Regions from separate parts of the Homo sapiens genome. Here regions 1 and 3 are each linked to region 2. Evidence: promoter capture Hi-C in 16 types of primary human blood cells and fetal thymus (Javierre and others, 2016). All regions are on one chromosome and are shown on one strand. Each heading gives the region's core, a stretch centred on a gene start or on the middle of the fragment in contact. The rest is flanking DNA. Distances are from core to core; before and after follow the strand shown. Region 1 overlaps ACSL4 (acyl-CoA synthetase long chain family member 4). Region 2 holds the start of GUCY2F (guanylate cyclase 2F, retinal). Region 3 overlaps ACSL4 (acyl-CoA synthetase long chain family member 4).

The links. The method cuts DNA at HindIII sites, captures the fragments that hold promoters and counts their contacts. A CHiCAGO score of 5 or more calls a contact.
Region 1: a fragment that was not itself captured here is called in contact with the fragment with the promoter of GUCY2F in region 2 in 2 of 17 cell types (total B cells and naive B cells); the score reaches 5.4 in total B cells.
Region 3: a fragment that was not itself captured here is called in contact with the fragment with the promoter of GUCY2F in region 2 in 1 of 17 cell types (monocytes); the score reaches 5.6 in monocytes.

Annotation. Positions count from the first base shown.
Region 1 is chrX:109,650,758-109,653,683 of GRCh38, reverse strand. The region is part of intron 15 of ACSL4 (acyl-CoA synthetase long chain family member 4); the gene reads left to right. Among named protein-coding and RNA genes, the nearest start is that of KCNE5, 27 kb to the right of the region's middle. The HindIII fragment of the contact is 1,263 bases long and covers 813-2,075 here.
Region 2 is chrX:109,480,622-109,483,671 of GRCh38, reverse strand. GUCY2F (guanylate cyclase 2F, retinal) reads left to right here and starts at 1,586. Exons shown (of 20, transcript NM_001522.3): 1 at 1,586-1,806. The HindIII fragment of the contact is 1,102 bases long and covers 927-2,028 here.
Region 3 is chrX:109,692,391-109,695,301 of GRCh38, reverse strand. The region is part of intron 2 of ACSL4 (acyl-CoA synthetase long chain family member 4); the gene reads left to right. Among named protein-coding and RNA genes, the nearest start is that of ACSL4, 39 kb to the left of the region's middle. The HindIII fragment of the contact is 2,568 bases long and covers 303-2,870 here.

The sequences.
Region 1 (2,926 bases), core at 195-2,694, 170 kb before region 2:
ATGATGATTTCCAATTTCATCCATGTCCCTACAAAGGACATGAACTCATCATTTTTTATGGCTGCATAGTATTCCATGGTGTATATGTGCCACATTTTCTTAATCCAGTCTATCATTGTTGGACATTTGGGCTGGTTCCAAGTCTTTGCTGTTGTGAATAGTGCCGCAATAAACATACGTGTGCATGTGTCTTTATAGCAGCATGATTTATAGTCCTTTGAGTATATACCCAGTAATGGGATGGCTGGGTCAAATGGTACTTCTAGTTCTAGATCCCTGAGGAATCGCCACACTGGACTTCCACAATGGTTGAACTAGTTTACAATCCCACCAACAGTGTAAAAGTGTTCCTATTTCTCCACATCCTCTCCAGCACCTGTTGTTCCCTGACTTTTTAATGATTGCCATTCTAACTGGTGTGAGATGGTATCTCATTGTAGTTTTGATTTGCATTTCTCTGATGGCCAGTGATGATGAGCATTTTTTCATGTGTCTTTTGGCTGCATAAGAATATATATTTTAAAGACTTTTTTCCTCATTGCCAAATTGCTGCCTCTCCCCAGGAAAACTGAACCGGCTTATATTCCTATCAGAGATATATGAATATACCTATTTCTCTAACTGGGCTCCTATTATTTCTATTTATTAAAAATGTTAACTACTTAGGTTACATTTTGGTTTAAAAATATAGTTTATAGTAATAGTTTTTCTACCTGAAAACTAATTTCTCCCCAAGAATAATTTTCTGAATTCTAGACACTGTGAAGTTTTAAATAACAATGGCCTGTTAACATAATCAGATTGAAAAAGCTTATTTATTTTATACCTATAAAAACAGTGTGACATGTATTTTATACTTACAAAAATAGTGTGACATAATATTTCCTTCTTCAAGGTGGTTTTGTTACAATATTATTGATATAACACACTTTTATATTAATGAACCAGGCTCCCAGAACCTTTTTTGATACAAAGCCTGATTTGCTCTCAATATAGTATTTCTAAAAATATATAGTATTTTCTTTAGGTATTTAAGTATAGCATTTCAAATATAGTATTTTCTTTAAATATAGTATTTCAAGAAATATATAGTATTTCAACCAAAAGGCTAATCATCAGAGGTGCACTGTAGTTACTCTTATTCATCCTCTGAATATATTAATGGATTAGAATGTGACTTGAATAATTTTCCATTGCATATTTAATTGTGTAGAAGCAACAATGGGGGAAGTCAAACTGTATCCCACTTTGTTAGAAGGCAGAATAAAATCCTAGGACCCACTAGGTTCTCATAACTTTCCTGTGCTTAGAGTGAGGCATGTAACTCATGATTTGGATAATGAGTGGTAATCATGAGCTAAATGTATAAATCATAAACCTTTTGTGCCACAAAGGATTTATCTTGCCAACATTTTGCAAATTATAATTTCAGAGACTTATGCAAAAAAGTGTGAAATAGTTTTGATTGTATTCAGCAAATCTGTCAGAAATTATACATCTTTCATAGCAGGCCTCTTCATATTTTAAGTATAATTGTGAGGTATACATAGTATCATAAGAATGCAAAATACTTGTTTTTGGGTGATTTGAGCAACTACTAATGGCTATGAAAATTGCTATTTGCTGCCACCTGCAAGTCACATTTCATAATGTTCTAGTTAATTCAGATAAAAATGCCACATTTTTGTTTGTTTTGTTTGTTTTTCCTTCTCCTAACCTTTCTCACTTGTTGGCAATTTATTCTATTTACAGGAATCTGTGATAGTCCATTGCTTCCTATGGCTTGGAGTATTAGATAATGTTTAGGAGTTTTCAAGATGAAACTTCTATAGCAGTCTTTATTTTTTTGGCTTTAAAGTAGGAATTTAACTAAGATTGTTTTCAGCCTGCTTTCATTTGCTTGTGTGCAACTGAAATAATGTGTTTGCCTTGTCCCAATTTTGTCAGTGTTTCTGGACTAGGACCTATGTATGTAAGAAAAGTAAAATGAAATAAAAAATTGGGGGGCCAAATCTGTAGCTGAGAATTTAACTGTTTCCTTGAGTTCCAAATGTGACGTTGGGAGCAGATAAGCTTATTTTATGAAACTCTGTGTAACTGAGCTGTACTTTAATAACAGAGTAGACCTGGTTAATTCAAGCAAGTTTTATGTTCCTTTACGACCCATTCAGGCATTATTTTTAGGAAGTTGGTTGTAATTTATATTTAAAAGATTATTTTTCATACTCAACTTTATATTTTTCTGTCATTTTAGTGAGAAACTCACTAGTTCAATCAAGCTTTCATAAAACGTAGACTAGTACTAGAAAAGAACTTTGGTGAATGTGAGTTCTTTGTGCTTGCCACTGAAACCAAATCATTTCTAAACTCGTCTAGGCTATTTTGTAGTAGTTTTTAAAAATGTGCGAATGTTTGCTTCTTGGCAATTGCTGTTTTAAATAATCACATAAAATAACATTTTATGTTGATTAACATAACATCTGTTGATTAATATTACTGTTAATAGGCCTCCATAATTTAAAGAATTACCCTTGTAGTCATAATAAATAACTTGATGGCATATAATTTATGGAATTTAAAAGTATTAATACTGTATTAATTACCTTTATGTCCTTCCTTATATTTTGCCAATATGTATTAAGTTGTATAACTCAAATACAATATTCATTGCATCAGTTTTTATACCATTTAAAGATATGAAATTCACAATCCCCTTTTTTATCTGCATTTGAATATATAGTAAAGTTTATAAAGAATATTTGTCTAGAGACTTAATTTTCTGTAGAATGAATTAATAAACTTGTATGTATTTATGGAGGGCTCTCAACCCTATGGATGGCAGTGAAAAAATCAAAGACCTTGCTTTTATGGAGCTTACATTTTAGCTCCATGGTGAAACAAATATATAATATGTTGGGTGGTGATA
Region 2 (3,050 bases), core at 337-2,836:
TTACTGTAACCTCTCTGGATGTCTGGGAATTCAAATAGTATCTATCTCGTGGGGTCACTGTGAAGATCTAAGGAGACAGGGCTTCCAAAAATGCCTGTCACATCATTGGCACTCAGTAAGTATGATTATTGCCTAATTTATCTCAGTCTTGGCATCCTCATTTACAAAATGGAAAGAATGGGTAATATCCACCTTCATGGTTGTTGTGAACATAAAGATGTACATATAAGTATAATGTACATATAAAATGCCTGTCATACTTAAATAAAAAACTGATAGATAGTAACAAGTGTTGGTAAGAATGTAGGCAAAAAAGAACCCTCATATGTTGCTGGTGGGAATGCCAAATGGTGCATATACTTTGGAAAACAGTTTGCCAATTCAAAAAATGTTAAACATAGAGTTATTATATGACCCAGCAATTCCCTGGGTATATGCCAAAGAGAAATAAAAACAATATGTCCATATAAAAACTTTTACACAAAAGTAATAAAAGCAGTATTCATAATAGCCCAAGGTGGAAACAACCTAAATTTCCATCAACTGATCATGTGGTATACCCAAAAAAGTGGAATATTATTTGGCCACAAAAGAAATGAAGTACTGGTACAGGCTAGAACGTGCATGAACCTTGAAAACGGTTTGTTTTTCAAACAAAGTGTGTTTGGTTTTTTGTTCTTGCGATAGTTTACTGAGAATGATGATTTCCAATTTCATCCATGTCCTTCTTTCATTCAAACAAAGAAGCCACTCGCAAAAGATCACATGTTGTATGATTCCATTTATATGAAATGTTCAGAATAGGAAAATCCATAGAGAAAGTAAATTAGTGGTGGCCTGGGGCTAGGAGGAGGAGAGAAATGGGGAGTGACTTTTAAACAAGAATGGAATTTCTTTGTGGGAATAATGAAAATGTTGCACAAGCTTGTGAATATACTTTAAAAAAACCCTAAATTATATACTTTTGTGGTAGATAAATTATATCTCAATAAAACTATTATTAAAAAACATTTCTCATTTAATATAAGTCATTTTTAGCCCTTAACACCTCAGTTCTCACGTTGGGAATCCAGAACAGGGCCCTGAGTGAATGATGCCCAGGACAGAGAGGGACTTCTTAAGGAAAAGGAATACATCTAAAGTATGGGGAAACAATGTCTCTGTACAAAGGTGTAGAGGGAAGTAGGGAGTCTCTCTTGGGAGGAAAGGCAGTGAAGGCACTTAAGGGGAATAGGAGAAGGAGACAAAATTCACCTGCTTTGAATTTTGCAGGGAGCCAGCCTGGATCACCTTTTATATTCTGGGCTGGAATCACAGCTGATGAATGTTTTGGCATTTAGAACTGTCCTGGAGAAAGGGCGATTGGTGGTTATTAGACAGAATGGAACAAGGAAGAACACAGAGGCAAAATCTGAGAGTTTGTGTCTGACTTTGAAAGGTAAAAGAAGGCAGTAGTCTGTGGAGGACGTATTTATCCAGAGGACTCTATTTGTTTGTTAATCTCTGGGTCATTGCATTTAGGTCAGCACTAACTCTGCTACAGGTGGGATCAATTTAAAGGATTAGAAGTGTCACTCTAAATCCTAATCCAAGTCTTGGTCTGCGGATGCTGAAGAGTGATTTTCAAAACATTTACTAACGCTTTCAATTATTTACCCCATTAATGGAATTTGTCAACAGACTGGAGTCCTTGACAGGATTGTGAATGCATAGAGGATGCAAAGAAATGGACACACTGAGGTAGCTATGCCAGTGGTCTGCATGCGCAGGCAGTAAACTGAAGACATTTGAGCGGTGAATTACTTGGTGAGTAGTTGACAGCTCTTGTTTATAAGAAAGATTGTAATGGGGGGAAAAAAGACACAGCCCACCTGGGAGCTGAGACGCTGATTGAGATACATTAGTTTTACTGCAATATGTAGTAAAAAAAAAAATTTAAAGAATGAAGGAAAGAAGGAAAGAAGGGTTAAAGAGAGCCTTCGAGATACTTTAAGTCAAGATTTGAGCTCAAAGGCTCTCATCCAAGCTTTCGTTTAGTTTCTCTCATGATTCTTTTTTTATTGCTTCCTGATGTTGTCTTATACAAGCTGTTAACTTGATTCAGGCTGTAATTAGAAAGACAAATCAATCTTTCATAGAAGTCCTCGGCTTGACAAGCTGGTATGAGGAGCCATTTCCCTCAGAGCTATTTGTCATAGTCTTTCTTTGTACATGTTTAACGAACGGTGGTTTTCTGTGTGAAGCCAGGCTTCCCATCAGATTGTAAAAACTACCTGAAATGAAATTATGCATCCCTATGCTCTAGCCGCTTTCCATGGAAGTCTGATCCCATGCAGGTGTTCACACCTGAGTAACCTAGGCAATGGCCCCAGAACAACTGTGGGCCAGTAGTATTCTATTTCCAAAATTTCATACCTTCAAACTTTGTTTTAGTTATATCCACATTTCCCATTAACCCCAGGAAAGACTTTAGTGAGCTAATTTTTTTCCTTAAACCAAAATCAGCAGGTGGAGGTTTAGGGCATCCTCCCCCTATCTTGCCCCTTTCTTTCCCTCCCTCCCTCCCTTCCTTCCTTCCTTCCTTCCTTCCTTCCTTCCTTCCTTCCTTCCTTCCTTCCTTCCTTCCTTCTTCTCTCCCTTCATTCCTCCCTCCCCTTCTTTCCTTCCTTCTTTCTCTTCTTCCCTCCTTCCCTCTCCCTTCCTCCCCCTTCCTCTTTTCCTTCCTTCTCTCTTCCTCCCTTCCTTCCTTCCTTCCCTTCTTTTTTTCTTTTTTCTTTTTTAAAGAATAAGTTTCCTTCTGTAAAATCTTGAGTTGGGGGATCAAGACTAAATCCTACAGCAACATAAAACTTTCTGGTTGTCCAGGGAGTCCTAACAGAGTTAGAAATATCACCAAATGCATCACATCGGTACCAGAAAAAATGTAAGGGCAGACCTTCAGCTTGGGAAATGTTTATCTTGCAGTTAACAAAGGGAAAAGAGCAACAAAAACTGAGAGTGAATGCCAAGGGACACTTTGTGGCATGTGGCCTGAGGAGGGACCCGTGTTG
Region 3 (2,911 bases), core at 337-2,836, 210 kb before region 2:
GTGATCTCGGCTCACTGCAACCTCTGCCTCCCGGGTTTAAGCAATTCTCCTGCCTTAGCCTCCTGAATAGCTGGGATTATAGGTGCCCGCCATGGCGCCTGGCTAACTTTTGTATTTTTACTAGAGAAGGGGTTTCACCATGTTGGCCAGGCTGGTCTCAAACTCCTGACCTCGTGATTCTCCCACCTTGGCCTCCCAAAGTGCTGGGATTACAGGCATGAGCCACCATACCAGCCTGAAGCTTATTCTTTGAGAGACAGCCACAATGTATACTTGTGCCGAAGCTTATTGAAGAATAAGCTTCAATGTATCGGGGCAAGTATACATTGAGGCTGTCTCTCAAACTGATTTGCGTGTATTTCTGATCTTCATAAATTTTTAAGTATATATTTCATTGAGGCATCTATTCTAGACTACAATATGGAGTAAAAGAAATACAACAGAGCACCTAAAATTAAAATCATAGTGTTTGAGGCTTGGACTTTGAAATTTACCTAGTCCTATAGTCCCCGATTGTTGATTTTTAGACCAGTGCTGGTTAGTGAAAACGTTTTTACTGGTCCATGGTGAAGTGAGAAAAATAAGGACAGCAGATCATGAGTTTTTAAAAGCTAAACATTTTCAGTTTAAAGGATTGCTTCTTATAGAATATATCTTTCTAATTTAGGGGAATTAAACATGTTATTTATCTCATGAAATTATGGTGATAGTAAATGGTAGGGCTTTAAAAAAATTCATGCCTGGCAAAACAACAACAACAACTTGGTAGCTCTGTGTCATTTCCCCCCACTAATTCTTTCTTTTACATTTTTTGCTGTTTTGTGATATCTTAAAATATGAACCCAACTTTCTCATTTTACAGATGAGGAAACAGACATTGAGAGGTTAATTTGTTCCAGGTCTTACCACTCAGCAGCTTGTGAACCAGGACTAAAACCCTATATCTGATACTGTCTCTCTAGAACTTCTGGTCTTCTGAAAATTGCTTTCATTATAATAGGTTATAAATTTGAAACTGAAGATATAGTAGTTCTTATGTGCTAATAACTATTTTTGATTTCCAAGTATAAAGAAATTCAAAAGGCCATGTTTTTGTATAGCTAAATGCTGAAGTCCACTGATTAGCCTGCATTAGAAGAATCTTAAACATGGCCAAAGATTTGTATCAGCAGATCAGAATTAGCTGTCACCGAATTCAGCTACTTAGGTGTTACACGCTACCCAGTGGCTGACAAAGAAGTTAAAATATCAGCAAAATTATTATTTCCTTTTGGAAGTTGACAGACTATACTGCCACTGTGAAGAGTGGTAGTATTCAAACTTCTATAGTTAATTTAACTACAGAAAGTACTGTTTTCTCTCTCATAGATGCACACCTACACACACACACATACATATTTATAGCAATCAATCTGCAGCCCATCTAGATTTGGAAGGGAAAAAACTACCAAGGTGAAGAGTAGGAGTTACCAGAAGCACTGGCATGAACATATCTGGCCAGTTGTGTTCAGGAGATTGCAGATAGTACTCTGTGACACTTTGGAGGCCCCCCATCAATTGCCTTTGTCTGAACTTTCCCAAAATATGTTTCAAAATGGAAATAATTAGCTCCCTTATCAACCTTGTCTTACTCATCTTACTGAAGCATAAGCCAGATAAACAAATGAATGTGGAGGGAGAGAACAGAATGGAATGTATTCCCAATCCTAATGTGGAAATATTAACTCCAGGGGTACTTTTCCATGGCTTCTTATATTTGGCTTTGTGTGACTTCCTTCTTTAGGTAGGAATTCTTTAATTTCTGAAATGTCAGACATACTCAAAATGAAATGCTAATAAGGATAAAATGCATTTTTGAATTATCTGCTGTCTTTAGAATATGTGGCCTTCTGTTCTTTACTACGGCTAATATGTGAGCATTGACTATATGGCCATAAGATTTCAATATTCAACAGATTTATCAGTCTTTGAGTTATTTAATTAGAATCACTTCTAAGATCTATTTAATACTGAAAAGCAGAATGAGTTTTTTTTTTTTTAAATCACGATACAATTTTGTATTATGGTGGTCAGGCAGCTGAATTATAGTCATTTATTTGGCCATTTTATAAGAAATGGTTTAAGACTGCATTGTTGCATAATTTATTAACAGTCTGACATATTGAAAAGAACATTGACAAACTAACCTATTAAGCTGGTTCCTCCTCTGGCAGATGGGGAGGGCAGATCATGTGGCAAAAAAAGGCATAGTTGTAAAATTCTCCCTGTAACATGAATCTATTCCTATGGGAACTACTACTGCTGCTTAAAGACTTTTTTGGAACCTACACTCATGGTTGAAAGCCCTAAGTTGTATTACTTTATTATAATAAATATGTAAGATGACAGGAGATAGATGTATAACCTATAGATATTTTGTATATTCTTCACTTGAACAAAACACATTTATTATAAAAGTTAACTTTAAAGTTAAATTCTATAACCCAATTATTTTTGGTTAACTTATGTTAAAATCATCTATATATCCCAACAGAGAAAAAGCACCCAGTAAATCGAAGACTTTGTAGATAAAATAAAAGTCTGCACTGTGGTACAATGGGCAGTTTAATTTAGCAGCAAGGTTTTGTGTACAGGGACCTGCAGCAGTTACTCTTTAGCATCAGTTGTACAACATTGACATTGTCATTGTGCTGTCTGCTGCCCTTCTACAGCAATGAACCATTTGTATTGCTCTCTAAACACATATCACCCAGAACTTAGTTTTTCTCCCTTTTTCATTATGTTTAATAAAGTTTGATTATAGCATCATGCTTAGCCAGTAGGTGCCACTTCTAGCCTGATTTATCCTCAAGATTCCTTAAATGTAAGCTTTGGATTATTTACAACCAATTATTGGATTAAATTATATACA